4 separate regions of the Homo sapiens genome follow, and regions 1, 3 and 4 are each linked to region 2. The links are contacts of gene promoters, found by promoter capture Hi-C in blood cells and fetal thymus (Javierre and others, 2016). All regions are on one chromosome and are shown on one strand. Each heading gives the region's core, a stretch centred on a gene start or on the middle of the fragment in contact. The rest is flanking DNA. Distances are from core to core; before and after follow the strand shown.

The links. The method cuts DNA at HindIII sites, captures the fragments that hold promoters and counts their contacts. A CHiCAGO score of 5 or more calls a contact.
Region 1: a fragment that was not itself captured here is called in contact with the fragment with the promoter of RTN4IP1 in region 2 in 4 of 17 cell types (activated CD4 T cells, total CD8 T cells, non-activated CD4 T cells and 1 more); the score reaches 8.1 in activated CD4 T cells.
Region 3: a fragment that was not itself captured here is called in contact with the fragment with the promoter of RTN4IP1 in region 2 in 1 of 17 cell types (activated CD4 T cells); the score reaches 5.1 in activated CD4 T cells.
Region 4: a contact is called between the fragment with the promoter of HACE1 here and the fragment with the promoter of RTN4IP1 in region 2, in 4 of 17 cell types (total CD4 T cells, non-activated CD4 T cells, fetal thymus and 1 more). The highest score is 12.1, in total CD4 T cells.

What each region holds. Positions count from the first base shown.
Region 1 is chr6:105,393,820-105,401,067 of GRCh38, reverse strand. PREP (prolyl endopeptidase) reads left to right here. Exons shown (of 15, transcript NM_002726.5): 2 at 3,141-3,215. Among named protein-coding and RNA genes, the nearest start is that of PREP, 5.6 kb to the left of the region's middle. RefSeq lists an enhancer at 2,406-3,168. The HindIII fragment of the contact is 1,576 bases long and covers 839-2,414 here.
Region 2 is chr6:106,623,290-106,630,823 of GRCh38, reverse strand. It overlaps RTN4IP1 (reticulon 4 interacting protein 1), which reads left to right and starts at 1,326. Exons shown (of 9, transcript NM_032730.5): 1 at 1,326-2,076. The coding sequence starts at 1,803. QRSL1 (glutaminyl-tRNA amidotransferase subunit QRSL1) reads right to left here and starts at 1,246. Exons shown (of 11, transcript NM_018292.5): 1 at 1,119-1,246. The coding sequence starts at 1,142. RefSeq lists enhancers at 1,015-1,074, 1,105-1,244. The HindIII fragment of the contact is 4,979 bases long and covers 1-2,281 here.
Region 3 is chr6:105,377,080-105,383,993 of GRCh38, reverse strand. PREP (prolyl endopeptidase) reads left to right here. Exons shown (of 15, transcript NM_002726.5): 3 at 6,475-6,608. Among named protein-coding and RNA genes, the nearest start is that of PREP, 23 kb to the left of the region's middle. The HindIII fragment of the contact is 444 bases long and covers 2,252-2,695 here.
Region 4 is chr6:104,856,294-104,863,130 of GRCh38, reverse strand. It overlaps HACE1 (HECT domain and ankyrin repeat containing E3 ubiquitin protein ligase 1), which reads left to right and starts at 3,212. Exons shown (of 24, transcript NM_020771.4): 1 at 3,212-3,564. The coding sequence starts at 3,489. It also overlaps the pseudogene LOC100422315. RefSeq lists enhancers at 3,123-3,417, 3,032-3,531 and a silencer at 3,154-3,783. The HindIII fragment of the contact is 1,298 bases long and covers 3,082-4,379 here.

The DNA.
Region 1 (7,248 bases), core at 377-2,876, 1.2 Mb after region 2:
CTAACTCTAAGCCTCGTGGCCAAGGGAATGTAGCTCTGGCCCAGTCTGGATCTTGTTGTGTGGCTCCTTGATAGCTTACGGTGGAGTATCTTTTTTTTTGCATTAAGGTTTTGGTTACTAAGCCCTAGGCTTGACTTAGGTATTTGCTTAAATGGTAGCCTTTGATTTCTAGGATGGGTTTGTTTCTCCCCAGCATCAGCTGGGCATTGCGGTAGCTCTCTGTCTCTTTCACTTGAGCACCTTCAGCCATATGCTCAGTACTCTCCTGCTGAAAGCTTTGGAGCGTTGAGACCATTTTGGTGGAGTTCTGCCTTTTTGGGCAGAAATTTGGAAGCCATGACACTTCTTGTGCAATACCATCGACCATTGCTTAAGAGAGTTGCTATCAGGAAATTCAGGCCTGTCACAGGGGACTCACACTCTGATAGAAGAGGATTTAGGGTGAGAGGAGAACACAGAAGAGGATGGGACTAATTTCCATCAGGAGGGGGAGGCATTATGTGAATTGAGTCTGGAAGTTGACCAGTTGGGTAAGGGACAAAGGACATTCCTGATCCTGTGACTAAAGTAAAGCCATAGCTATGCAGGCCTGGATTGTTGTGGAATTGCATTTGTTTGTAGGGTGGCAAGAAGGCGATTCTGACCAGACCATCAACAGATGGATAAATTTGCATGGGGCTGGAAAGATGAGCAGGGCAGGTTTGATGGGTCCTGCCTGCTGTGTGTACGAGTCTGCACTTTATCCTGAAGGCAGTGGGTGAGTTGTTGAACAGTACAAGTAAAATATCGAACAGGATTAAGTAGTACAGTACCTTATCAGGGCTCTATTTTTAAAGCTTCTTGAGGAGATCAAGAATGATTAGCAAACTTAAATCAGGTGGAAGAATTTGATTCAAGGGAAGTGGCTATAAGACACATCCACCTCATTTGTAGGGTATGGTCTTAGAAAAAATTGGAGGTGGAAAGTTGTGGCTCCTGGGATTAACTCTGGAATTGTCCTGGAGAGAATGTTTCTTGTCCTAGTTAAAAATATCTGATCAATAACTTCCATCTGCTGTAGATGATGGTGCCCGGTCTGGGCAGATAGGGCTGCTTGGTGTAAAATTCTAGATATGCCTGAATTTAGTAACATAATCCAGGAACATTTTTTAAGTGTCTATTCTGGCCCCTCTGATGAGTGTTTGGGGAAAAGGGTGGGCTGACTGCTTTAGTCCCAGGTCTGGTTCTGAACTTGATATGGTTCTGGGCATGTTACCCAGCCTTATCCCTGCTGTTGCTCCTAGAAGTGCATGATTGAAAGATGCTTTACAATTCAAAATTTTCTGATTTCTTAATGCTAGGAAAAGCAGATTGTTATTTTAAGCCTATTTTATAACCACTTCAAGGTGTGTAAAACGTAAAAGACTTGCAGATGAGAAGAAAAGATGAAAAGCTGTTGTTCGGTGGTGACAATCTGCTAAAATTTAGAGAGGTCAGAATTGAAAATTGGTAACTTTATGAAGACCCATCTGGAGAGGCTTTAGTCGGGTTTTATGTTCCTTGCTCTTGTTTTTACGTCCCTTGCTCAGTCAGTTGTTTAATGAAAATATATACAGAGTGTTCTGGCTTACCTGCCCATTTATCCAGTTGTGCATTTCCCCAGGAGTTCTTTGACCTGGCATCAGACAAGGACAGATGTGGAAAGCCCGGTGTTGTAAGGGCCAAGGAGATTGTTCTCACCCAGCCAGAGCCACACTGGAACTAGAGCAGCACTAGGTTTTCTTTAGGAAATAGCCCTTACCTTCTGGCATTGTAGAACAAAGCAAGGAGACAGATTAAAAAATTCATCTGAGATAGAGGTAGTCTTCCCAACAGCTTTATACAAGAAGCCTTAACTAGAATGTTGGAGTGGTTCAGAGACTTGATTGGCAAGACATTGTCAGTGTGGTTTCATTAATGGGGTTAATCTTTTTTTTTTTCTGAGATGAAGTCTTGCTCTGTTGCCCGGGCTGGAGTGCAATAGGCGTTGTCTCAGCTCACTGCAACCTCTGCCTCCTGGGTTCAGGAGACTCCCCTGCCTTAGCCTCCCGAGTAGCTGGGATTACAGCACCTGCCACCATGCCCGGCTAATTTTTAAATTTTGAGTAGAGACAGGATTTCAGCATGTTGGCCAGGCTGGTCTTGAACTCCTGACCTCAAGTGATCCGCCTGCCTCAGTCTCCCAAAGTGCTGGGATTATGGCTGTGAGCCACTGCACTCTGTCCTAATGGGGTTAATCTTGATGGTATCAGGTGGAGAGATTTTGTAATGATTTTTACTGCTGGATAATTTCTTTTGGCATAATCACTTGAGGAGTGGTGAAAACTGTTTCTACTTGCTCCTTCAAACGCCTTCAAGTGGCTTCTAAGGCCAGGCCTTAGAAGCTCCAGAAAGCTTCCTTCAGCCAGGTTCTACTTACACTAAGCAGTTTTATTTCTTCCAATATCATGGTAACCTGAATGGGTGATGCTTTTGCACCTTCTTTTTGTAAACAGTGGAAAAAAGCATTTCATAACAGTAAATAAAAAGGAAGAAAGGCATTAGTTTTAAAATGTTTTGCCATTGCATTTAAGTCAGCTTTTTGAACTTATGTCAATTAGAATCATTATACTACATATTAGTAACTTGCTTTTTGGCAGTTTAGACATAAAAGCAAACCTGGGCTATATTGCAGGGAGATTTTCTAATCATTGGGAAGCTCAGCGGAACAGGAGAATGAGCACGTGTGTGTTAGCCCCCTCCCTGACGTGCCCTTCTTGTGTGCCCACTGTATTGTCCACTGTATTGTGTCATTCTGTGCTTGGCTGCTGACAGCACGTTTTCAAGTTTCTTTAGCACAGTGGCAGGTCTTTGTTTTGTGTTGTAGGGACAGAGCGGTTTCCTGTTCTGACCTTTCATCTTTCTTTCCTCTCTAGCTGAAACATTCTTTTCATGAAGGGTGGCTTGACACCTTTGAGAACCTGCCAACTTTGGTTCATGTGGTAATTTGGGCAGACACGTTGCCAGTGAGCCAATTAGCATTTTTGTCCATCCCTTTCCTATTTCTCCATTACATTAAAAAAATACCAGTTTTAATTGGGGTTAGAGAGTAATTATCTAATACCTCATTTTGTTTTTTACAGGTACAGGATTATCATGGTCATAAAATTTGTGACCCTTACGCCTGGCTTGAAGACCCCGACAGTGAACAGACTAAGGTAATTTGGTTTCTAATTAAAGATAAGGCAGCCTTAGTAGCTAGCACCAAACTCTAAATGTCAGTAACTATAGCTTTTCCTTTCTGGTGTTCTCCTGTGTTTTCTGCCATGGGATGGTGAGTATACCTGTTGTTACCACTACTTTTTGTCAAATAATTTATGGGAAAAAGACAAAAGCATGGCTTAGTCCCAGAGAAGATCACCTAAGTGTTTCAGATAATGTTTATGGTTCATAGTGACACTGATGAGCTATTTTAAATGAAAATATCAGAAAGAAAACTGATTTTTGCCAAAAGAAAAAATGAAAACCTAGATAGAAATGATGTTAAAGGAAAAAATTGCCTAAATATTTTTTTCCAAAGAAAAGGAAATCTTGTATATGAAATGAATATTAGGTCATGAAAACTGAACACTGTCCTTAAATTGCTTATTGATGTCAACACAACAACAGTGAAACAAAAGCTAAGTAGTGAAGGGGCAGGGGGGAGCATTTTCTGCCCTAAAAACATAAAGCTTTCATATTCTTTTGGAGAAACAGTATTTCAAGGATCCTGCTGAAGTCCATTCAGTAATGAAGGTGGCCCTAAGTCCTATGTCCCACAGACATTTTTCCCTTTTTGGAGTGCCTAGGACTTGTCACTTATGTATACTTTTTTTTTTTTTTTTTGTAGACAGAGTCTTACTCTGTCACCCAGGCTGTAGGGCACTGGTGCGATCTTGGCTCACTGCAACCTCCGCCTCCTGGGTTCAAGCAATTCTTGTACCTCAGCCTCCCGAGTAGCTGGGATTACAGGCATGTGCCACCACACCCGGCTAGTTTTTGTATTTTTAGTAGAGACGGGGGTTTCACCATGTTGGCCAGGCTGGTCTCGAACTCCTGGCCTCAAGTGATCCTCCCGCCTCGGCCTCCCAAAGTGTTGGGATTACAAGTGTGCACCATCGCGCCCAGCCCATTTATGTGTACTTTATGTAGTTAATTAAGTTTGCTTGGTTGGGGGAATAGTGTTTCTCAAGTTCATCTTAAGTTCTTGGATTCTTCTATTTATAACCATAGTACATAATACTTAGTACATATTTGCAGTTTCTGATATGTTCAGCATCCCAAAATTTATTCGAGCTTCTTTAGAGTTGCAGGGTACGTTTCCCATTTAAAAAAAAAAAAGGTTAAATGGCACTCTAGGTAGTTTTTCAGGCCAGTCTTCAAACGCCTGTGTCTTAACTCCGCCTGTTTCTTGCAGTCCCTTTCCACCGTATATACCAGTGTTCTCTGGAGACCTGAATTCAGATTTGCCAGGAAAGCATCCCTTCCTGATGTAGAATTGCCCATCTCCCCACTGGGACAAGGAAAGGGATGGAGTGAAGAGCTTAGCCAGAGCATGATGGTATATGGAGAAAAGAGAGAAAGTAGAGGCAGGGGAGTAAACCACATGATCATCTCTTTCTTCTTCCTTTAGTCTCAAGCACTGGCTCACCTGCTTTCTGCTATCCTCACCTGTTCTTTGTGAGTAGTGTCTCTCCTTTGCCCACTGCAAAGCTCTTACAACTTCTTTTTATCCTTTGTCCCTAAAGTAAGCACACTGCTATTTTGAGATTTCCTAATGGTTTTTACTTTTATCTGCAATCCTACATTCTTTCTCTAACTCCCTTCAAGAAAGACAAAGATCTCATGGATGAGAATGGTTGATATTTGGGGTTTAATTTTTCTTTCCAGAAGCACTGGGTTATAGTAGTGGATGGGCAGAAATTCCAAAGTGAGAAACACCTGAGTATCTTTAGGAATGGTGAAGGCTGTAGCTCTGCAGGTAAGTCTGAGGGGACAGAGAACAGGTGTGGGGTTACCTCCCCACTTCATCCCTGCCATAGATTACCTTGATTGTTCAACACTGGGCTGACTGAGACAGAGGGATTGGGTCTGGGAGTGGAGAGTCACATGCACCTGCATAACCTGTACTGGCTAGAAAGCACCAGGGAAAGGATGAAGTTCCTGTGCATCTCTTGGAAAACTGTCTCTAAGGACCTGATGATTTCTTCACCTGAAGTATCGGCTATAACCTGGATTTCTACAGCCTTTGATGGTGATTGAGTGATTTAGCACTGTCAAAATGACCCAGGTTTTATCTGTTAGTGAATGTATACTTTGCTGTTCCTTAGTTGATAATGACAGGTTCGTGGATGACAAGCCACTTATTAGTGGATATCAGGCTTCCAATTAGTGGATGAAACTGCTAATTAATGATCTTATAGTCAGCACTTGATAGAAACTAAGACATTGGAGTATACACTATTTTTGTGGTATACATTTCTTGGATGGTTACCATGTGCCAGGCACTTTACCGGGAGTTCTGCATTCCCTGTTTCATTTAATTCTCAAATTCTGAAATATATCTTTTTATTTCCCCCATTTTACAGATGAAGAAATTGAGGTGCTGAGTGATTAAATATGTTGTCCATGGCTACTCAGCTAGTAAGTGTGTAGTCAAGGGTAACCCAGGTAGACGAGGTGGTTATCAATTACACATTAAAAAATAAGTAAAAGTAAAAAGACTGGGTGTAATACTTTGCAGATGCGAGCTAAAGGAATGTATTCATGTCTGTGCTTGCCATGTGCCTTTGTAGGCCCTCAGGTGTGAACCCTGGGCCAGCCCCCACTCCCATGCTGACCTGTTCTTTTTTAAAATATATATATTTTTTAAATTGTAATAATTCAGAGTACTGTGATCTTACATCCTTCTCTGACTTCATATTCTACCATGGCAATTTTTCATGTTAGAAAGCAATCTTTGCAGCCCAGAATTTTAATAGTGATACTATTTCATCAGGCAGATGCACTATATTATGCCTAATGACTTCTGTTGGAAATGATTGTTTTCAACTTTTCACTATTACAAATAATGTCCCAAATGTCCCAAACAAGCACTTTTCTAGATCTCCACATTTCTGACAATGACATGATTACTTGTTGCAGTAGCCTTGAAATCTCTTCTCCATTCTCAGGTATTTGCTTTTTGTCGTTGCTATCAAATGGGTTCCTTTTTCATTATTGATGGCATATACAAGTGTTACTGACTCTTTTGTTAGAGACAGGGTCTTGCTGTTGCCCAGGCTGGAGTACAGCCATCTTCTGGGCTCCAGCCATCTTCCTGCCTTAGCCTCCCAAGTAGCTGGGACTACAGGCGCACACCACCATGCCTGGCTAAACTAGCTACTGCTACCGATTTTATATTTATTTTGTACCTAGTTCCCTTACTGAACTCACCAAATTTTCAGTTATTTCCCTTAGATTTTTAGATACATAATCATATAACATATAATCAAATTTAGTGATAATTCTATTTTCTCTTCTATCAAACTTTGGTTATTTTATATATTTTGTACCTAGTAATTTTTTTGAACTCACAGATTTGAATAAGTTTTCAGCTATTTCCCTTAGGTTTTCTAGATACATAATCATATCATCTACAATCAATTATTATTTTCTCCTCTACCAAATTTCGGTTCAGGTCTTATTGAATTGGTCAAAGCTCTGCAAAACATGTAAGAATAGTAGTGAGAAAGAACTTTCTAGCCTAGTGTTTAAATTGTTATTTTGAATGATATTTGTCATCTTGTTTAAGCATTGTTATTCCTACTTTTAGTTTTGGATTTTGATTTCTTTTTAATACCAATCAGGGTAATTATATAGCTTCACTAATATATTAATATTAAAATGTCCTTGAATTCCTGTGATAAAATTCCATTTTTAATCTGTTTTTATGTTCCTTACAACTATATTTACAAGAAAAGTTGGTCAATATCTTGTTATCCAATATAATAACCACTAGCCACTTGTAGCTCCTGAGGACCTGAAATGTGGCTAGTCTGAATTGATTACATGTTGTAAGCATAAAATACATGCTGGATTTCAAACACTTAGTTTGAAAAAAAAAAAAGTAAAATACCTTAATATTTTATATGGATTACATAAAACCAGTCAGGACATTAGAAACATCTGTAGCTCTCTTATAAGATCTGAAATAGAGTTTCGATTTAATCT
Region 2 (7,534 bases), core at 77-2,576:
AGCTATCTATAATTATAATTCCACGCTGCCAGCTGGGAAACAAACAAAACGACAACTTCTAGGGTGGAATAAAAAGGAAGATGGAAGGCAGTTTAGGTCATCAGCGCCTACTTCTTACCAGAAATCACCTGGAGCCTCCATTAAACCATACTCCCGAACTTACCACACAGCTCTAATTAAGTCTAGAGTGGGGCATAGTTTTAGTTTCAACAGGTGCTTTATGTGACTCTGATAGCAATGGGCCTGCAGACAGTTCTAAGGTTGAGTGACGTGAACCAGGAAGCAAAAAGACCCGAATTAAAGCTATAACAGCAGAAATAACGTAAGAGGGCAGATTCCAGCCATATCTGCAAGATAGAATGAAGAGGGCTTAGTGATTTATTGGATATGAAAGATGAGGAAGAATCTAAAGGCAAATGAGATAATAGTTGTGCCATTAAAAAGAGTCTATTAAGAATTCAGAAATACCAGAGCTTTTTTAAGACGGGGGTTGAGAGGTAAGTCCTGTTACAATGATTACTTCAACACCGATTAAAGTGAATTTGAGGGTGCTTATGTGACATTTAGAAGAACTGCCCAGAAAGCATTCACAAATACAGTCTAGAATTCAAACACGACGTCCAGGACATGGAGACACGGGTTAGGAAATCACTGGTATCTTAGTGGTAGGTAAATCCTAGAGAACGAATTCTTTGAAAAAAGCCAAAAATTACTCATTTGAATTTTGCAAACTACAGTTTCGCCGGGCTTCTTAGCGACAACTGCAGCTAAGTGTCGGGGACAGAAGAGAGACTGAAGTGGCCCCGCAAGCCCCCTTTGGCAAAGCCCACTCCGAGACCATCCGGATCCCGACCTACACCAGAGCAAATGTCTAATGGTGAGAAGCCGCTTCACCACCCTACAGATCCGCGGTGCAGAGATTTCCCTGCTAAGGTCCTAACTCCTGAATGGGTACGGCGAGTACACCCGAAGAATCGAAAGGTACTTATCCCCCACTCAGTTCTAGAGGAAGCAGCGAGGTGGGCCAAGATGCGTGGTAAGGCCCAGGGACTCTTTGTCAACGAAGTCCGTTAAACTTTCCGCCCTCCCGGGGGCCTCAGCGGGCCAATTCCACTCACTTCTCGGAGGCTCCGGCCCAGCATGGTCCTCGTGCCCAGCCTGCCACCACAGGAGCCAGGCAAGGGGGAAAAAGAGGTCACCGGTCGCTAGTGATGTTACATGGGCGCAGCCATCTTTAATTGTCACTGAGCCCTTCAACACCGAGTACTTGGATTGGTTGAATTGCAGCCCGAGGAAATGATCTTTGTAGGCGATTGGTTGGCGCCGCAAAGCCATCCCGGCGGCTAAGGAGAGCGGGCAGGCAAGGAGATTCCGGGCCAGGGTCGCGGCGGCAGTCGGCAAGCGTTCGATTCTCTGGCGTTGGATCGCGAGCGGTGTCTGCTTGTCCCGCCGAGGGCTCCCAGGACAGGGCAGGGATCTAGGGGGTTTGCGCACCTGCTTTTTAATGCCCCGCCCCCCCTTTTTTTTTTAAAGTGGAGGGGGTGAAAGTGAGGGAGGAGAATGGACAGAATACTGACTGGAACGTTAATTCGAGCATTTCATATGCGAAGAGCGGAATAACAGTTCCGTATTCTTCTTTCAGTTTCTCCATTAGATTAGCTTCATTTTCGAATGCTCCGTTTTGCATGCTTAATTTTGAAACTAGCCCGTGGTTTGGCAGAATTTGACTGAATTCAGGGGTGAGAGTTTGATCCAGTCCAAGTGTATTTGAATTTGAGCACGCAGTTCAACCAGTGTTTACAATGGAATTTCTGAAGACTTGTGTACTTAGAAGAAATGCATGCACTGCGGTTTGCTTCTGGAGAAGCAAAGTTGTCCAAAAGCCTTCAGTTAGAAGGATTAGTACTACCTCTCCTAGGAGCACTGTCATGCCTGCTTGGGTGATAGATAAATATGGGAAGAATGAAGTGCTTCGATTCACTCAGAACATGATGATGCCTATCATACACTATCCAAATGAAGTCATTGTCAAAGTTCACGCTGCCAGTGTAAATCCTATAGACGTTAATATGAGAAGTAAGTTTTCAAAAGACATTGTTACCTTTTTTAAAAAAATCACTTTCATAAGGTATGCCGTTTTAAAAAATTGACTACGCTTCTTTGGTTTACATAAATGAATCATTTAGGTTTTTAACAATACCTCTGCAAATATTTCCAAAATTTTTGAAATTGCAATGGCCAGGGAATCCTTCTGGCCATTTGTATTGACAAAATATAAGCTTGATTGTTTTCATGCGTCCTTAAATATGTAAGTTCAGACTTGAGAACTGTGTCTGTAGCTAACTTTTTTTTTTTTGAGACTGAGTCTCACTCTGTCACCCAGGCTAGAGTGCGGTGGCCTGATCTCAGCTCACTGCAACCTCCGCATCCTGGGTTCAAGCAATTTCTCCTGCCTCAGCCTCCCGAGTAGCTGGGATTACAGGCGCATGCCACCACACCGGGCTAATTTTTTGTATTTTTAGTAGAGATGGGGTTTCACTATGTTGGTCAGGCTGGTCTCGAACTCCTGACCTCAGGCGATCCTCTGCCTCCGCCCCCTAAGTGCTGGGATTACAGACGAGCCATTGCGCCCTGCCTATGTTTGTAGCTAAATTTCTGTCCAGGGAACTTTGTGGTATTCTGAGATCCGTCACAGGCTTCGGAAGTATAGTTGTTTCCTAGTCAGTTTAGAATTTATGGGGTTTTTTGTTTGTTTTTGAGACAGAGTCTCACTCTATCGGCAGGCTGGAGTGCAAGGGCGCTTTCCTGGCTCACTGCAACCTCCGCCTTCCGGGTTCAAGCGATTCTCCTGCTTCAGCCTCCCAAGTAGCTGGGACTACAGACATGCGCCGCCACACCCAGCTAATTTTTGTATTTTTATAGAAACGGGAGTTTCACTGTGTTGGTGGGAGGCTGAGGCAGGAGAATCGCTTGAATCCGGAAGGCGGAGGTTGCAGTGAGCCAAGAACGCGCCCTTGCACTCCAGCCTGCCGATAGAGTGAGACTCCATCTCAAAAAAAAAAAAAAAAAAAAAAAAAAAAGCATTGAAATGACTTTACTGTGATTGTCTCATGAAGTCTACGTTTGTATTCTTTGTTTTGAAGTAGTAATTGCTACTACCAGTTGGGCATGCCGTTTTCCTTTATTCTTTTTATATTAGGCTTGAAGAGAATTCAGTTTTTTATAAGATATGTCTTTTAGTGGTAAGTTTTACTCAATGATCAGCATGTTTTTTCATCTCCTTTGATTGTAAGTTCTTTCAAGATTGATCCCATGCTTTGTCAACCTGTTTCAGTGCTTCACATACGCAGTTGTCATTCAGTCACTATTTCTATGCCTTTTTATATTTTTGTTCTGACTTAAGATAACAAACTTAAATTAGCAGTATTTTATCTATGAGTAATTTTTACATTTTGTCTTCGTTTAGGTCTGTTAGCTTTTTATTTCTTTAAATGCACATGCGTAATTCATGCCGTGTACATTTTCATTTAAACAGAATGGCTGTATCTAGACTTTTCTTGGCTGCTGTTTAATAATATAACACTGTAAAACATTTTACTTTTATATAGTATTCTTGAAACATCTTAGTTTTTTATGACTTGAATGGGTAATATTATTCGCAAGTTATCCTCTTTTTTTTTTTCTCCTACCTTTTGAGGATATTTATTGTCATTGCAGAAGATATCTGAAACAGTAGCTTGGGGAAATAAAATAATGAGTAGAAGACTGTAAACTGTAGGAAGCAGTTATTTCCCTTGGCAAGAAAGCAAGAGACATGTCTATTTTATTTGAAAGATGAAGGCTGGCTGTTTTTCTGGAGACGGCCACTACTGTTGGACGTAAAATAATAAATCATAGAAATGGCTAAAGAAATGAAGAATTTTTACATGGGGAAAAAATGCAGCCAACAGCATCATACCAACAAAGTTTGGTGTCTTTAGATGGGATTAAAGTCTTTAAACTGATGACAGATTTAGGATTTTTCAAATTGGCCCAACTCTCTGAACAAGTCAAGGTGTCAACCCCTGTCAATAGGATGGAACACTTAAGGGCCCCATTCAGTCATCCGTGTCACCAAACAGGTTCTCAATTACTAACTGCCAGCTGACTACATTCTGGGTTCAGGGGCTTGTTAGATAGTAACAGTGAGCCAAGGCTACTCAGTTGATGTATTAGCATTATCAGGGGACCAAGAAAACTAAAAACAACCTTGGGCTGCAGGCTCTGTATCTCAAAGAGGACTGAAACCTTTCTGCAGCTCTTAAACAGCAGCTAAAGTTTGACACGACTAAATGTCCACTTCTGTTGTTCAAACCACATAGAAGTTTCAGTGAATAATTGTTTAATTATCTTTAGCAGTGGAAAAGGAATGTAAGGCAGGAAAAGTGAAGCACATGACTTTTGTGAATATTACAAGTGAAGTTGTTTTTTTTTTCCCTGACAGAGTATAATCCTGACTCCCCAGATGGCAAATGTTGTAATGTTGGTATAATGGCCATCAGCTTAGATTTTCTGGGACTTTCCCACCTTTCAAACACTTTATCCCATGTGTCTTGATTTTTTATTAGTAACACAACTCATGCAAGCTACCCACCTGTCAGCATCTCTCTCGGTATCTTCTACCTTCCCTCCTGCTGTATGGATTAGCTGTCACTGCTTTCACATAAGGCCAGCCCTCGGCTTGTGTTTCTGATCCCATCCCCCTCACCTACTCTGGGATATCATTCCGGCAGGTGTCTCCTGCATCATCAGTCTTTTCTTTTCTACTGGATCATCTCCATTAGTATACAGACTTGCTGTTATTTCTCCTTTCTTAAGAAGAAGGAAAAGGCTGGGCACAGTGGCTCACACCTGTAATTCCAGCACTTTGGGAGGCCGAGGCAGGTGGATCACCTGAGATCAGGAGTTCGAGACCATCCTGATCAACATGGAGAAACCCCGTCTCTACTAAAAATTAGCCAGGCGTGGTGGCGCATGCCTGTAATCCCAGCTACTCAGGAGGCTGAGACAGCAGAATCGCTTGAACCCGGGAGGCGGAAGTTGCAGTGAGCCGAGATCACGCCATTGCACTCCAGCCTGGGCAACAGAGCAAGACTCTGTCTCAAAAAAAAAAAAAAAAAAAAGAAAAAAAAGAAAAAAGCCACTCAAAAGTCCTCTGTCCATCCCAGTTCCCACTTCGAGCTACTGCTCCATTTCTCTGCTCCCTTTGCAACAAAACTGTTTTAAAGAGAGTTCAGTCTTCTCATGTCTCCAGTCCCTTATTTCCCATTCTCTCAAAAGTGCACTACACAGCAGTTGCTCCTGGCAGGGTTACCAAAGGTCTGTTAGATCCAGGCTTGTTTGTTTGTTTTAAAGCCTCTTAGCATCTTTGGACCTTATTTGAAAACCTGTCTCCCGTCAGCAGCATTGAATGTCTTTAAACTGCCGCCTTAGTCTCCTTTGCTGCTTTCTCCTCATCCCTAAGATCTAATGGATTGCCCACAGGAGTGGGTGCGGGGCAAGGGGAGACGTACAGAGTGGGTTAGTGACTGTGGAGCATGCGTTGTGGGGCAGGGAGTGAGTGGTACATGACACTGGAGAGGTAGGCAGGGTGCCTATCATGGAAAGCCTCACATGGCAGACAGGTTCTCAAAAAAAGGTCAAGCAGAAGAGAGAATAACAGATACTTTTGGGTCTGAGAAAAGTCACGTTGTATATGGAAGCCATGTAATAAATTACTCTGGATTATTATAGAGTAGCAAATTTACTTGAACCAAAAAATTAAAAGAATGTTTTCAGTTTTATTTAGCTGATATTTATATAAGTATTCTTTTTCTTTTTCTTTTTCTTTTTCTTTTTTTTTTTTTTTTGAGACAGAGCTTTGCTTTGTCACCTGGGCTGGAGTGCAGTGGTGTGATCATGGCTCACTGCAGTCTCAAACTCCTGGGCTCAAGCAATCCTCCTGCCTCAGCCTCCTGAGTAGCTGGGATTACAGGCATGTACCACTATGCCTGGCTAATTTTTAAAATTTTTAGTAGAGATGAGCTCTAGGCTGGTTTTGAACTCCTGAACTCAAGCAATCCTCCCACCTTGGTCTCCCAAAGTCCTGGGATTACAGATGTGAGCCACCACACCTGGCCTGTAAATAGTCTTAAAAATAAAAAGATATGGGCCAGGTGTGGTGGCTCACGCCTGTAATCCCAGCACTTTGGGAGGCAAGGTGGGTGGATCGCTTGAGCCTAGGAGTTTGAGACCAGCCTGGCCAACATGATGAATCCCTGTTTCTACAAAATTAGCCAGACGTGGCGCACACCTGTAATCCCAACTACTCCAGAGGTTGAGGCATGAGAATGGCTTGAACCCAGGAAGTGGAGGTTGTAGTGAGCCAAGATCACATCACTGCATTTGGGCAACAGAGTGAGGCTTCATCTCTTAAAAAAATAAATAAAATAGGCCGGGTGCAGTGGCTTACACCTGTAATCCCAGCACTTTGGGAGGCCGAGGCGGGCGGATCACGAGGTAGGGAGATTGAGACCATCTTGGCCAACATGGTGAAATCCCATCTCTACTAAAAATACAAAAATTAGGTGGCTGTGGTGGTGTGTGCCTGTAGTCCCAGCTACTCGGGAGGCTGAGGCAGGAGAATCACTTGAACCCTGGAGGCAGAGGTTGCAATGAGCCAAGATCATGCCACTGCACTCCAGCCTCATGACAGAGCGAGACCCTGTCTCAAAAAAATAAATAAAAAGATGTGAAATAAAACAACTTGATTTTACACATCAGAACAGATGCAGCCAAGAGGCTTTTTATCACTCAGGAATTTATTCCAATTTATTTCAAAGATGTTGTTCTAGAAACATGTTTAAGGATGTGGGGATCATTACTGGTAAACTGTTGTCAGCATCAAGTACTTTATATTCTTGCCTTATTTATATATTGACTTCAAACAGCTTAAACATTTGTCTTCACCAGACCTGGCACCAAATATTCTGTTGTTTAAAAAGTTTGTGAATGAGTACGTTAATAAAGACATGAATACGTTAATAAAGACATCATCTTCAAAGAACAAAGCAAAACTGTATAAAAGATAATACTAAAAGTTCTGAAGACAGTTTCAAAATTTGAATTTCAAAAATATTTTGAACAATGGTGGCTTTAGTTTAATAAGTGATTATCACTTTCCAAGTAAATTTTTTTTAAAGAAAATCTTTTTATGCTTTCCCATGTAATGGCAAAAAATTATAAGGTTGATTACTTTTTTAAAAAACTTTTAAGTTGAGAGGTACAAGTGCAGGTTTGTTACATAGGTGAGCTTGTGTCATGGGGGTTTGTTCTACAGAGTATTTCATCTCCCAAGTATTAAGTCTCATACCCACTAGTTATTTTTCTTGATCCTCTTCCTCTTCCCACCCTCCACCCTCTGAAAAACCCCAGTGTGTGTTGTTCCCCTCTATGTGTCCATGTGTTCTCATCATTTAGCTCCCACTTTAGTTTTCTGTTCCTGTGTTAATTTGCT
Region 3 (6,914 bases), core at 1,224-3,723, 1.2 Mb after region 2:
ATCTTGTTACAGTTTGGATTTCCTCATTGATACAGAATTATTCAGGAGAGGGAGGATATGAGTGTGTTTAATGTCCTCACGATCAGATATTTAGTTAGGTTTGGATTTGAGGTGCAAATCACCTCTTCACCAGGTTTTTGGTCAGGAAAGTATACACCAAAGAATGGAGCCTAATGGGGTTAAAATTTCAGTTTTCCCTGGTCATGACGAGTATTGAGAACAAGGCTTGAATATCAGGTCGGAGTGACGGTTTCTGCTTCCTCCCTAATTGATAGTAACTAGTCCCAGTGAGGGAACGAGTTGATTTACCCACACGGGGACAAGCAGAGAGGTGGAAAGAGGCCTGACAGGCTTCTAGAAGGCTCCGCCTAGTCTGCTGATCATGTGCAGCAGGAAGCTTACTATGAGCCCTTTTCACCCAAGAGCAGATGGTCCCAGAGAGAAGAGATGGGCCCACTCTGGGTTTTTTATGTTAAAGTTGAGCCCAAAAGATTTTGGGCTCTCACTGATTGAACTAGAATATTTCTCCACCTTGAGAATGAGTAGGGGGTTGCTTGTGGGCCAGGAAAAGAAAGCACTTCATGTGGTGAGGTTAATGGCATTGTGGTCAAAACTGTGACCTGAACAAGCTTTTCTTTCTGGGGCTTAAGATTCCCCCTTTGTTGTCTGATGGGCTGCTGATTTTTGTAAATATTGAGTAAGTCCTGGAAAATTACGAGCACTCTTTTTTTTTTTTTTTTAATGGTAGAGATTCCTTGGCATAGATATTAGCCTTGGAAAGTACATTATTCCAATCTTTTATTGTTTCCATTTCTGGACGTGTTTCCTGAAAAGCAGCTGCATCTAATTCTCTTTTGTGCATGACCTACCTTGACTGTCCTGCCCTCCTGGCCCTAAGTCCTACAGCCTCAGGGTGAGCGCCTCTTGGCTGCTTTTTGATGGGGCTGTCCCTGTACTTGGAGAGTCATTTCCAAATTCCAAATTCTGCTAAAGTGAGAGGGGATCCAAGTGTGCCGCCCATGCCTTTCACTTAGGCTGGGATTATGGTTTTTGCCACTTTCTCCAGAAGCCCCTGATAGTTGCTTAACCAAGTCCTATATCTGTTATTTGTAACAGATGCTCCTCAAAGCCTGTGGGATGTAGATAGCACCACTCTTAGTTTTCATTGGTATTTCAGAAGAGGGGAGGTTGATACCCGGGCCTGAGCCAGTCTCTACCTGGAAGTCCCTCCTGGTCGTCTTGCCTGCCTGCCAATGGCACTTGCCCCAGCCCACCCTGCCCTGCCCTGGAAGTAGCTTCCCCTTTATTTGTTCTCCTCTAGCACATATCTTTATCTTTCATTCATCTTGTTAATCACCATGGTGCACATTGTAGTGTTTTGTATAAATATTTATTTAATGAGTAATTCTAGGCATAATTTTTATTCATTTATGTAAGAATTGTAAAAAGATGAGTTTTTTTTAAGTGAACAGTATTTTTAATTTACACTTCCATTTAGAAAGGGAAAAGTTAAGGCAATCAGTAAGTGAGCCTGTATCTGTATTTCGTAAGTCAATTTTTCAAATTGACAGGTGAAAATTGTATATATTTAGGTGTGTAGCACGTCATTTTGATATATGTAGAAATTGTGAAATGGCTAAATCAAGCTATTTAACATATGTGTAATTACCTCACATACTTTGTGTGTGTGTGTGTGTGTGTGTGTGTGTGTGTGTGTGTGTGTTGAGAACGCTTAAAATCCCTCTTAGCAATTTTCAGGCAGTTACCATGTTGTACAATAGATCTCTTGAACTTATTTCTCCTGTCTAACTGAAACTCTGTGTCCTTTTACCAACATCTCCCCCAACCCCCGCCTCTGGTAAACACCATTTTACTGCTTCTGTGAGTTTGACTCCTTTAAATAAAACATATAAGTGAGAGCATGAGGTATTCATCTTTCCGTGCCTGGCTTATTTCGTAGGACTGCAGTATTTTGTGTATTAAAATAGAGTACATGAGGGCACTTTGAAAAAAATTTTCTGAAGACATTAGGAGTAAAGGAATCTCAGCTCCCAAATTAAGCCACCCCTTTCCAAATAGCTTTTCTTTTTCTTTTTTAAATTGCAGTACGAACACTTCACATGACAGCTACCCTTGTAACAGATTTTTCTGTGCACAATATAGTATTGCTAACTATAGGTACAGTGTTGTACAGCAGATCTCTAGAACTTAATGATCTTGCATAACTGAAGCTTTGCTTTGCTTTTAAGCTTTCTAATAGTCAAGGCACATGAGATATAAGTAAGATTTCTTAGTTTTGAGCAGCTACTCTTTGCTAGGAAAATGTGTTCAGATTCATCTATGGATATAAAATCTAAACTGTTGACTCTCTTTAGAAGCTCAGCTGCGTGCATCAGGGCTTTCATATTTCAGTTATTTTAATACATCCTAGAATGAGACTGCGGGTACTGAAACTCCTTGAACAACAAGGAATTTGTGTTTTCCTCACCCTGCTTCCTTATCACCATGTAACACTTCCATTTTCTTTTTCTTTATTTTTATTCTTTTTCTCCCTTTTCCCCAATTTTTTTTTCTAATATTTAGATCAACCAAGATGATATACCTGTTAAATACATAAATGACCAAGAAGGCATTTCCCTGGTTAAAATATCAGAAATATTATTGGCATTTATGTAACCCTAAATTTAACAAAGCTTCTTTACAGAAATTTTCTACCACCTTCGTGAAAAGGATTTGCCCGAGTTATAAAGATGTGTGTTATGAAAAAACTTGAGACTTTTAGGAATTTGGACACTCTGGTTTTACATCTAGATATTTGACTTGGAAGAGTGCAGTCTTTAATGGTCTATTTAAAGTAATTAGCTAACATTTGTGGGTAGGAGGTGACAAAATTGGATGTACTAATCCTAGAATTATTTGGTAGCATTTTTATGCCTGGCATAACAGTTTTATGAAAACTTTATATGTGAAAAGCCAGTGTGTCTGCTTCAGGGTGAGATGAATTATGTTGCAGTAGTTGTAATTATACCATGAGACATGTGAAAGAAGCAAAGCAAAATAGAGAAACAGCTGGAGAACACAATTCTGCTTTTCCAAGGAAAATGAACTGAGCAATCTGTTGAGCAGCCTCTGACCCTTGGACCCACCGTGGGCCTAAGTGCAGCCTCATGCAAATCAGAAGGATCAGGGAAATGACATCTTCAGGGTACCCTCCTTAGAGAATCCCTCCGTGGAAGTGCAGGAGCCAGCCAAGACCCTCAGCATGCTGGGGTCTTGTGTGGAATCCTTCTTAGGGCTCTGACTAGAATGTTCTGGTGAGGCCCTCTGGGAAATAGCCAAAACTGCAAACTAACATGTGCTGTGCCCATTTTCTCTGTTTCCACTCCCATTATAATGGTTGTTCCTGCCCCTTTTAGAGACCAGCCATTCCTCTTGGCCTTGTCTCTCACCCGAACCACTGTCCCAGCCTCCTAACTGGCCTGTCTGTCTCCACTTTTGCTCCCCTATAGTCTGTTCTCTGTCCAAAGCACGGTAATCTTTCAAAAAGTAAATCTCCTTACCCAATCATGGCTTATTTGCACTTCGATGAGAGATCGAAACATCATATCTGCCTACCAGGTGCCGCCTGCTGTAGCTCATGTCTGGTCGTCTGGCCTCAGCTCATTCCCAGCCTCACTCACCTCCTTACTCTTCTTCACACCTGCCAAGTTATTCCCCCTGCCAGGACTCCCACACCTGCTGTTTCCTCTGCCCAAAACATTCTGCCCCACCTTGCATGGTTGCTCCCTCTCAGTCCTCAATTTGAAACCTCCTCAGAAGGGCTTTTGTGACCACCCTGCTTAATTAGGTGCCCTCTTTCCCAGTGATTTTCAAGATCTGCAAGGAATGGCTGGTTTGTAAATTTCCAAACCATTTGTGGATTGAGGTTTTTCCAAACTATAATGAAGATGCCATAGTAATGTCAAATTGCCATAAAGGTTTTCAGCACTCACTCTTGTTTTCTGCACTCTTCTCATTGTGGGCTGGTAGCAAACAGTTCAGGCCAACACTGATCTGTAGTTGACACTTTGGGTATCAAGCAGCATTGCTCTGCTGATTACCCTGTGTATGTCCTTAGAACCAACCATTCTGCAACCCTCTGGCTTTTTGTGGGTGTGTCCCCAGTAGCATGAGCTCCGTGATGACAGGGATTTTAGCTTGGACTTGTCACTTATCCATCCACAATGCCACGATCAGTGTAAACACACACACAAGATTTGTGTTTAGTCCACGTGGATGCTTCAGCTCCCTGATGTTCCTACCCAGCACAGCCCAGTTCATGCAGAAGAAAATCATAGGAGGCCCAGGTTGCGTCTTCCTTCTTTCCTGGGTGGATCTGCTTCATCTCCACATCCTTTTTCAGTCTCTGAGTGATTTTGCTAACTCACTGCATGACCTTAACCAGGGGACTTTAATACCACTTGCCTCCATCTCCATATCTGTGAAGTAGGCATGGTGTTTTCTTCCACTGTAAAATGAAGTAGTGCTTTTGGACACACTTGGTGATCTCCAAAATGCTCCCCTGGGTGGTTTCTCAGATAGGCATTGATTTTATAACTAAAAAGCAAAATCCAATTTCCTCCTTGATGTTTTTAATGAGGGAAAGTGCAGTCAGCAAACTTCCTGTAAAGGGCCACATAGTAAATATTTTAAATGTTGCAAGCCACATAAGTCTCTGTTGGTTTTTCCCCTCTAGCTCTTTGAAAATACAAAAACCATTCTGATCTCCAGAGCCACAGGAAAGCGGGCCAGGGCGAAGATTGCCAATCCCTAGTGATAGTTGGAATTGTATTTCTGTGGGACTCAGTAAATTTTATTTTCTGTTTAAATGAAATCAGAAATGTGACCTGTAACAGTTTTATTTTTCTTGAACTGGTCCTCTTGCAAAAATGTTAATTACTGTATTCATACTTTACATCCCTTGTCTCTTGTTTTTAAATGCATTGTAATCAATGAGCTTTGGAACAGTTTGTCTCACCACAAAATCATGGTTCTGCAGAGTGGGATTGGTGGTTTTTGTAGGGGAACCCAAAGCATTGTTGCACATTTGAAGACCATTGTGAGCTTGGATGGGCCCTTAGAGTTTGATGATATATCCAAAAGTGAACTCTGATAATAATGCATTTTTCCCTGCCATTCAAAGTATATTATGGTCTTAATTTCCTGAAGTTTTTCCCTGATGATTTACTTATTTATAGACATCTGATGAAATCTTCTATTGAATTTAAAGCTGATACAATGTTCTTGTTTCATTTCTTGCTAATAGCCAGATGTGAATTACTAGTAGCCAAGTTTTTATGGTATTGTCAACTTTTTAACTGGTTAGTTACAAATAGGGTGTGCTTGGATACAACTCATCTTTTGTAAAAGCCCCTTTTCCTGCCTTCACTACCAGTATTTCCTGATGGCCATCTCTTGCCTTTCTTATAAACCATGTTGCTGATATTCTTCTGCAATGCCACTTGTTTCAGGTGTTTTTTGTTTTTGTGTGTGTTTTAAGACAGTCTCCCTGTGTCGCCCAGGCTGGAGTGCAGTGGCACGATCTTGGCTCACTGCAACCTCTGCCTCCCGGATTCAAGCGATTTTTGTGCCTCAGCCACCCTGAGTAGCTGGAATTACAGGCACCCACCACCACGCCTGACAAATTTTTGTATTTTTAGTAGAGACAGGGTTTCGCCATGCTGGCCAGGGTGGTCTCGATCTTCTGGCCTCAAGTGATCCACCCGCCTCAGCCTTCCAAAGTTCTGGGATTACAGGCATGAGTCACTGCACCTGGCCTCCAATGTTTTTTCAATGTTCTTTGGTTGCAAATTTTAGCAAAGTTCTCTGATTGAAATTAACATGGTAGTAGGTCTTACAAAGCCAAAATCGATAAAATAGCGCCTGGGTATCCCTAACTTTCTCTCTTTGACTCTGACTTCTCTTGGGATGGCCAGGTGCTGAATAAGAATCCCGGAACCATGGCACTGCGTAAATGCAGATTATTGGCAGTGTGTGATCTGAGCTACAGTATAGTGTGTTTGTTAGGAGCGTGGATCTGGGAGCCAACTCTGCCATCTGCCACTTCCTAGCTGTATGATGTCGGGCAACTTTTTAACCACTCCAAACCTCAGTTTCCCAATCTGTAAAGTTGGCCTAATAAAAGGACCTTCTCCATAGGATTATTGTGAGTTCTAAATAAGTTAATACTTGCCCTGTAAGCATTAGCTGAGTTAGTACCATGTAAGCATTGGTTGTTACTACATATTAATCAGTCACTTGGCAGGAGCTGGGCAGGTATGAAGAAGAGTAAGGAGGTGAGAGAGGCTGGTAATGAGAGAGAAGAGGCACTGGCTAAGAGACAAAGTGTGCTTTTTCTGATACATATTAGTGGATAATATTTCACATGGAAAATTTTATATTTAACTTGCTTTGTCCATTTTAATTTCTCCACAGGCCTTTGTGGAGGCCCAGAATAAGATTACTGTGCCATTTCTTGAGCAGTGTCCCATCAGAGGTTTATACAAAGAGAGAATGACTGAACTATATGATTATCCCAAGTATAGTTGCCACTTCAAGAAAGGAAAACGGTGAGACTGCTTTTACTGAATTTCCTTTTTATTTTCAAAGTAAATGCTTTCTTAAATTGTAAAATACAAATTCCAGATAACTTGTCCTTGTATAAGATTAATTCATTATAAGGAATTAATTTCTATGCCTGAATATGAGAGTAATATTTTTGATCTATTAGGTATTGTCCAAATTGTTAAAATAATAGTTAAGAAATTTAGTAGGGATAGGTCATATAAAGAAATCTAGATTATAGGAAATCGTCGTCTTATCGGTAGTAATTGGTGAGATAGGATGATTCATAGACAGCAGTGGAGGTTTGTTTG
Region 4 (6,837 bases), core at 1,963-4,462, 1.8 Mb after region 2:
TCACGTGAGTCAATTTCTGATAATAAATCTCTTTCTCTCTCCATATATATACACACATTCTACTGGTTCTGTTTCTCTAGAGAACCCTGATATATTTTTATATCACATTTATTTGGCTAATATTTTCTATGGTATCCCTTTTTTCCATTTCCTTTTGGAAATGGTGGTCCCTTAGAAACAGCAAATAGCTGTTTTATTTGATCTTTTCAGATGTAAGAAATAAATCAGATCAAGTACAAATTGCGATCCAGGATATTTTGAGTCAGTGTTGAGAAGCTTGCCTTACTGCATTTCCCGTACAGTTTATAAAGCGTAAAGATGAAGTACTTTGGCCTTTTTTCATGATTGTCTGTTATACATTAATTTTTTTAGGGAAACTATTTAAGCTGATTTGTCTATAGCTGATTGGCTTAGTTTCACTGAATCATGCTGACAAGGATATAAACCTTGCGTTTTGTGTTTATTATTACAGATGGTGTTTTGGGGAAATGAGGATGATGAGTTTTGGTTTGTGGTTATACACAGTTGGACTTGGGTATATCTAAACTGTGGCCTCCATTTTTATTTTTCTTTAACACACTATCTAAGACCTCTATGTTTTAGAGTAAACATTGAGTTTACTCTGTTTATATTTTCTGTGACCATGGATATATTTAGATTTATTTCTACTGCTACTTTATGTTTTGTTTTTATGACCATTTTTCTTTGCTTCCCACCCATTTCCTGCCTTTTGTTGAACAGATTGTTTTTCTCTTCTCTTTCCCTTAATGCTTGGGAATCTTCAATAAAACCAATTTCCAGGAAGAAAAAAATACCAGATATACAAAAAAGAAAGTTGAAACTGTCTGGGCCACAGAAGAACCTGGGTTATCATTAGTGAAAAACTCTACGCTTTTGTTAATGGAACTTATGATACAAAGTGCCCTTTTGAAACTTCCACTTGATGTTTTTGGTGTTGGTGACAGGTGAGAAAATCTACTCTTTAGCTAATAATAATCTATAAGAAGCTGTTTAGCTGTTTTGGTGTTCTCCTGGGCAGCTTTCTTCTTGGTGTGATAAGTTGCCCTGTCTAATACGGTAACCACAAGGCACATACAGCTATTTAACTTAATTAGTTTCATTACTTATACTTTAATACAAATTTAAAATTCAGTTGCACCAGCCACATTTCAAGCACCCAGTAACCCCATTTGGTTAGTGGATGCTATTTTGGACATTGCAGATTATAGAATATTTCTATCATTGCAGAAAGTTCTGTTGGACAGGAGGTGATAAGCTGATAGTAGTACTGCAGCTTTATACATTTTGAAGCAGAGCTATTGGGAGACGGCATCATATTGCAGAATTTGGAACTGACAATTCACATCAGCATTACCTGTTCCATTATCTTCTGCTCCTGTGGTGAACAGTGACCAGCATGAGATGCAATGCCCACCATGGAGGCTGCTGGGGGCTCCTACCCCTGCCCACAAACTCCAGGCTTGGTCCTCACAGGACGTTGGAGGTAATTTATATGGAGCAACAGCCTAGAGAGCAATGGTGATAACAGCAGCTGAGAGAAGCTGAGGGGCCAACTTCTGTACAGCAGTGGGAATCCTGACTTTTTGAATAGCATAAGAGGCCAAGCAAGACTGGAACATTTTTAGTTGAAGCCAGGTTGCAAATGGTTGAGCCTGGGCTAGACTGGTCCATAACGTCTGGTATTTCTTTCTTCCTTTCCTTTTTTTTTGAGACAGGGTCTCGCTCTGTCACCCAGGCTGGAGTGCAATGGCAGGATCTCAGCTCACTGCAGCCTCTGTCTCTCGGGTTCAAGCGATTCTCCTGCCTAAGCCTCCCGAGTAGCTGGGATTTCAGAGGCACACCACCACGCCCGGCTAATTTTTGTATATACATATTTTTAGTAGAGACAGGGTTTTACCATGTTGGCCAGGCTGGTCTCAAACTCCTGACCTCAAGTGATCCGCCTGCCTTGGCCTCACAAAGTGCTGGGATTACAGGCATGAGCCACTGCGCCCAGCCTCTGGTATTCTTTTGAAACTTTGACCTCTACCACCTTGTTGCCAGACTGGTTTAGGTATCATCTGATTAGGTGAAGATTACAGAGGTCTTCCCCGTGCCTGTGGCACCACTGGCACAAATGGTCACTAGCTGGAACTGATTTAGGACGGCACTGGCAGGGAAAACACATGCCAACCACCATCTGCCCCTTCATATCCTGAATGGGCAGGTGAGACTCTCTTTCACTTGGCCAGCCAACATACATCATCAACGTACATGTGCCCATTCATTTCAGGAACAGCTTTGTCTCTTTGAGGAAGAGAAGCTGAAAAAGACAAGCCTTTTGTTTCTCCCTCACTCCAGCATCATCTTGGCACTGGTAATATATCCAAGATATATTGGTGTTAGCCAGGCTCACATTTACCCCTTTGATTGGGTTAATTTTTTGAAGTTCCAACTTCTGTTGTTTCAAGTGTTCAACTTCTGTGCAGAGCTTATGAATATGATTTTTCGCCACTGAGTTCATTTCTTCCACAATGTAGGTATCCAAATTTTTTGTAACTTACAAAGTCAAATCCTTTGGATTTCCCACTAGGCTGTGTCATCACATAGACACTTTAGCATTGTACCAAATAAATGAAAAAATTTTTTCAGGTTGTCATCATTCATATCTTCCCCAGAGCTTTAACTTTGTGCTAGGTGCCTTGTTAAGTACAGGGATACAACACAGTTCAAGATTAAATGTCCCTGCCCTCATAAAGCCGCCCGGCAGGAAAAACAACTAATTAAGCTATTGTCAAGTTATTTACAATGAAGACAAAAGCACAATATGCTTTTGGATTTGTTTGATTTTATTACTCTTTAAGTTTGACATATGAAAATACCATACTTAAAACAGTTCATGTAGGGTACCTGAAACAAAGGCACTAATACAGTACTAGAAAGGTGGTGACGGATTTAAGAACAATTGTGCCAATTTCTAATCTGTTTTATAGTAAAGTTATAGAATTGGAGGAAACTGCTCCTGTACAACTTTGGAGGAGGGTAGGAGGAGCAGGGCGTGAGAATGCCTTTCCAGAAGCTTAGGAGTACGCCCAGTCGCTGCGTGGCTTCCCGCATACTCAGCCCTGCGCCCGCGTTGGCGTGGCCTGGGCGCCCCCAACGTGACTCCGCCCAGGGCGCTCCGTTCTGCCAGCTGGAAACTACAGTTCCCAGAAGGCCACGCGAGCCCGGGAGGGACGCGGCGGCGGGGGCTGCAGGAAAGGCGCGAGCAGAGGCGGCGGCGGGTGTACTGTAGGTGGTCGGTCCGGCAGCAGCCCGGCCCCCGGACGCAGGACGTGGCCCCAGGCAGCCCTCGCAGCTCAGTGCTCTAGCCGGGGCAAGCCCGCGTCTCCGCCTGCTGGACGGGCCCAGGCGAGATGTAGGGCTCTGGGCGCGGAGGCCGCCGGTGGGGCGGCTGATCGCGGAGGATCGCGGAGGGCGCGCCGAGGATGGAGAGAGCGATGGAGCAACTCAACCGCCTGACGCGCTCGCTGCGCCGCGCGCGCACCGTGGAGTTGCCCGAGGGTGAGCCGGGTCGCGGGGCCAGGCTGGCCGCGGGGCTGGGGGCGGCCAGTGGGGCAGGAGCTCCGGCCGCGTCAAGGTCGGGTGGAAAAACTAACTGAAAGCTGAGAAAACGCCCACTTTTACTTTCCAGAGCTGAGAGGCGGCCCCGGGCCCCGAACTCCCCTGGCCCGACGCTCCCACCCCGGCAGGTGGGAGTTTTCGGGAGGAAACTGGGTTGGTGGGGGTTCCGCTGCTGGGAGGAGCGAGACAAAGGTCTCGCAACGTCTGTCGATTAGGGGTCTTGGCAAAGGGGCAGGAATACCAGCCGGAGGCCCGAGACCCGGAGTCAGAAAACATCATAATTGCGGGTCATTTAACAGTAGCTGGGGATAGAGATGATCCAAAGATACTGTTTACTTTAAGCTGCATCGGGGGGCCAGGCGGGCTTTTATTTTTGTTATTTTTTAAAATGTGGGGCACTGCCTTGTTTTGATAACAGGCAAACAAAGGGTTGTCAAACATCAAACAGGTACTCTTAAAGTACTGTATGGGTAAACACAATATATTTTTCTTTAATATGCATGCCTGCCTTCATTCTTCATTTATTCATCAGACTAGTATTGAGTGGGCTAGCTGGTAACTAGGACGCATCTGCAAAGAGGAATAAGGCATGGTCCCTGAGGATCAGGACTTTTAGTTCAGCGTGCCAGGGTTCCCTCAGGACAGGTAAAACTCTGCTAATAACAAGGAGAGAAAATAAGCAGTTTTGTTTGCAGCGTCAGGAATTCAGACATTTTAGTGGTGATGGGAGACAGCAGTGCTGCTTCTAAGAAGCTTTTGGCTCTTTATGCCCAAGTGAGAGAAGGGTTGGGAGGAGGTTGTAGCTGGTGAATAGCTTTTTTCTTAATTGTAGTAGTTTATCTTACTTTTTCAAAACTCTCTTTGAATTGCTGCTGGGTGGTTTGTAGGATAGGGAAGGAGACCTTGGCAGACGGTCATGAAAGAAATGTGGGATTGGGTACTTTGGCGATAATTTTCTTTCCTTTCTTTTATAGAGATGAGGTCTCACTATGTTCCCCAGGCTGGTCTTGAACTCCTGGGCTCAAGTGATCCGCACCCTGCTCCCCCCAAAGTGTTGGGATTACAGATGTGAGCCACCGCGCCTGGCCTGGGGATAATCTTCTTGAAAAAATGGTCTCTAGTCTCTATTTAGAATTCAGATTTTGGTAACTAGATTCTAGCTTCAACTTTTTCTATATTTTCTTTCCAACTTCCACCTTTGAATCCATTTCTTAAGTGCTACTCTTACTTATTTTTCGTAGTCGAATTATTGGTATAGCTTTATGAAGACTACATGTATAATTTATATTGTCTAGTTTGAATCCCGATATTTTTTACATAAATGTGATTTAGAAGACTTTGATAATGTTACTTGGTTTTAAAAGTAATATAGTTTCATTGTAGAAAATTTGGAAAATAAAGAAAAATAGAAAAAAATATGTCATTTCACCATCCAGTTATAAACAGTGTTACCATTGTTATTTCTTTTTCCCTCCCTAACAAGTTAAAATCATGTTGCATATAGTCTTTTATTTTGTGTTTAGAAAACATCCTTTTTTTTTTTTTTTTTTGAGACGGAGTCTCACTCTGTCGCCCAGGCTGGAGTGCAGTGGCGCCATCTCGACTCACTGCAAGCTCTGCCTCCGGGGTTCACGCTATTCTCCTGCCTCAGCCTTCCCAGTAGTTGGGACTACAGGCCCCTGCCACCAGGCCCGGCTAATTTTTTGTATTTTTAGTAGAGACGGGGTTTCACCGTGTTAGCTAGGATGGTCTCGATCGCCTGACCTCGTGATCTGCCCGCCTCGGCCTCCCAAAGTGCTGGGGGATTACAGGCGTGAGCCACCGTGCCCCGCCCCAAATGTTTTTTTTTTTTTGTATTCTTCAATAGGCTTAATGACTTCAGAATTTCATAGGATGCATGTAACAAATGTTGAATCTAAATACTGTTTTTAAACTGATTTTATGAGAAACAGCTTTGTATTTAAGACATAGTCTGCCTCTAAATACTTCCTTAGGGTTAATTCTTACAAGAAGAATATCTACAATACATTTCTAAGGCTCAACATATCAGTTTCTCAACTTACTCCTTGGAAAGTTCCACCAGCAGTCCGAGAGTGCCCAGAAACTAGAGTATTATTAGTAAAAGTAAAACTTTTCCACATAGGCAAAAATGGCATCGTTTGCATTTGCTTTTCTTTGATTATAATGTTCATTTTGTTCCTTGAATTTAATTTATCTTTGTCTCTAAGCTCTGATGAGTCTTTGAATTCTCTGAGCTTGGCTCTTTAAAGTATATCATACATATAGGAATATATATATATATATGTAAATATATATGTAAATATATATGTAAATAAATATATATATGTAAATATATATATAACATTCCTACTGATACAAATCCACATTTGTGCTTACATTTTAAGAGCTGAATGGAAACTCTGAGATCTCTCTAAATTTAGAAAATAATCAGATTTTTTTTGCTTTGTTAGAATTCAGTAATCAATAAGCATCTAATTACAACAAACTATTAAACTTGTAAACTTTTTAGTCAGCTTGTACTCTAAAATTAATTTTGTTGCAAAGGTTGAAACTATAGATGTTTGATAAACTGAGTTGGATGCTATGTTTCCTTGAGATGATGAAAACCTGAGTATTACCCTAAGTAATGGAGTGCAGGTAGTTGAGTCCTCCTAGGCAGGCCTAACACAGGAATATTCTTGAGAGAAAAAGAGGTGAAGAGTAAGAAATTACTTTAGGGATATGGATTCTTAGTAGTGTTTAAAAGTTGGAGGCCGGGCGCAGTGGCTCACACCTGTAATCCCAGCACTTTGGGAGGCCGACGTGGGTGGATCACCTGAGGTCAGGAGTGTGAGACCAGCTGGCTAACATGGTGAACCCCCGGCTCTACTAAAAATACAAAAAATTAGCTGGATGTGGTGGCGGGTGCCTGTAATCCCAGCTACTTGGGAGGCTGAGGCAGGAGAATTGCTTGAACCTGGGAGGCGGAGGTTGCAGTGAGCCAAGATCGCGCCACTGCATTCCAGCCTGGACATCAAGAGCGAAACTCAGTCTCAAAAAAAAAACACATAAATAAAAGGAAGGTGTATGTTGTTAGTGTATGTAAAGTTTGAACTACTATATAGTGAATGCAGTTTGTTTAATAAAATAATAAAATTTGAGCCCATTTTAGCATATGTGATTGGGATAATTGTGTTTAAAAAAATTACTCCA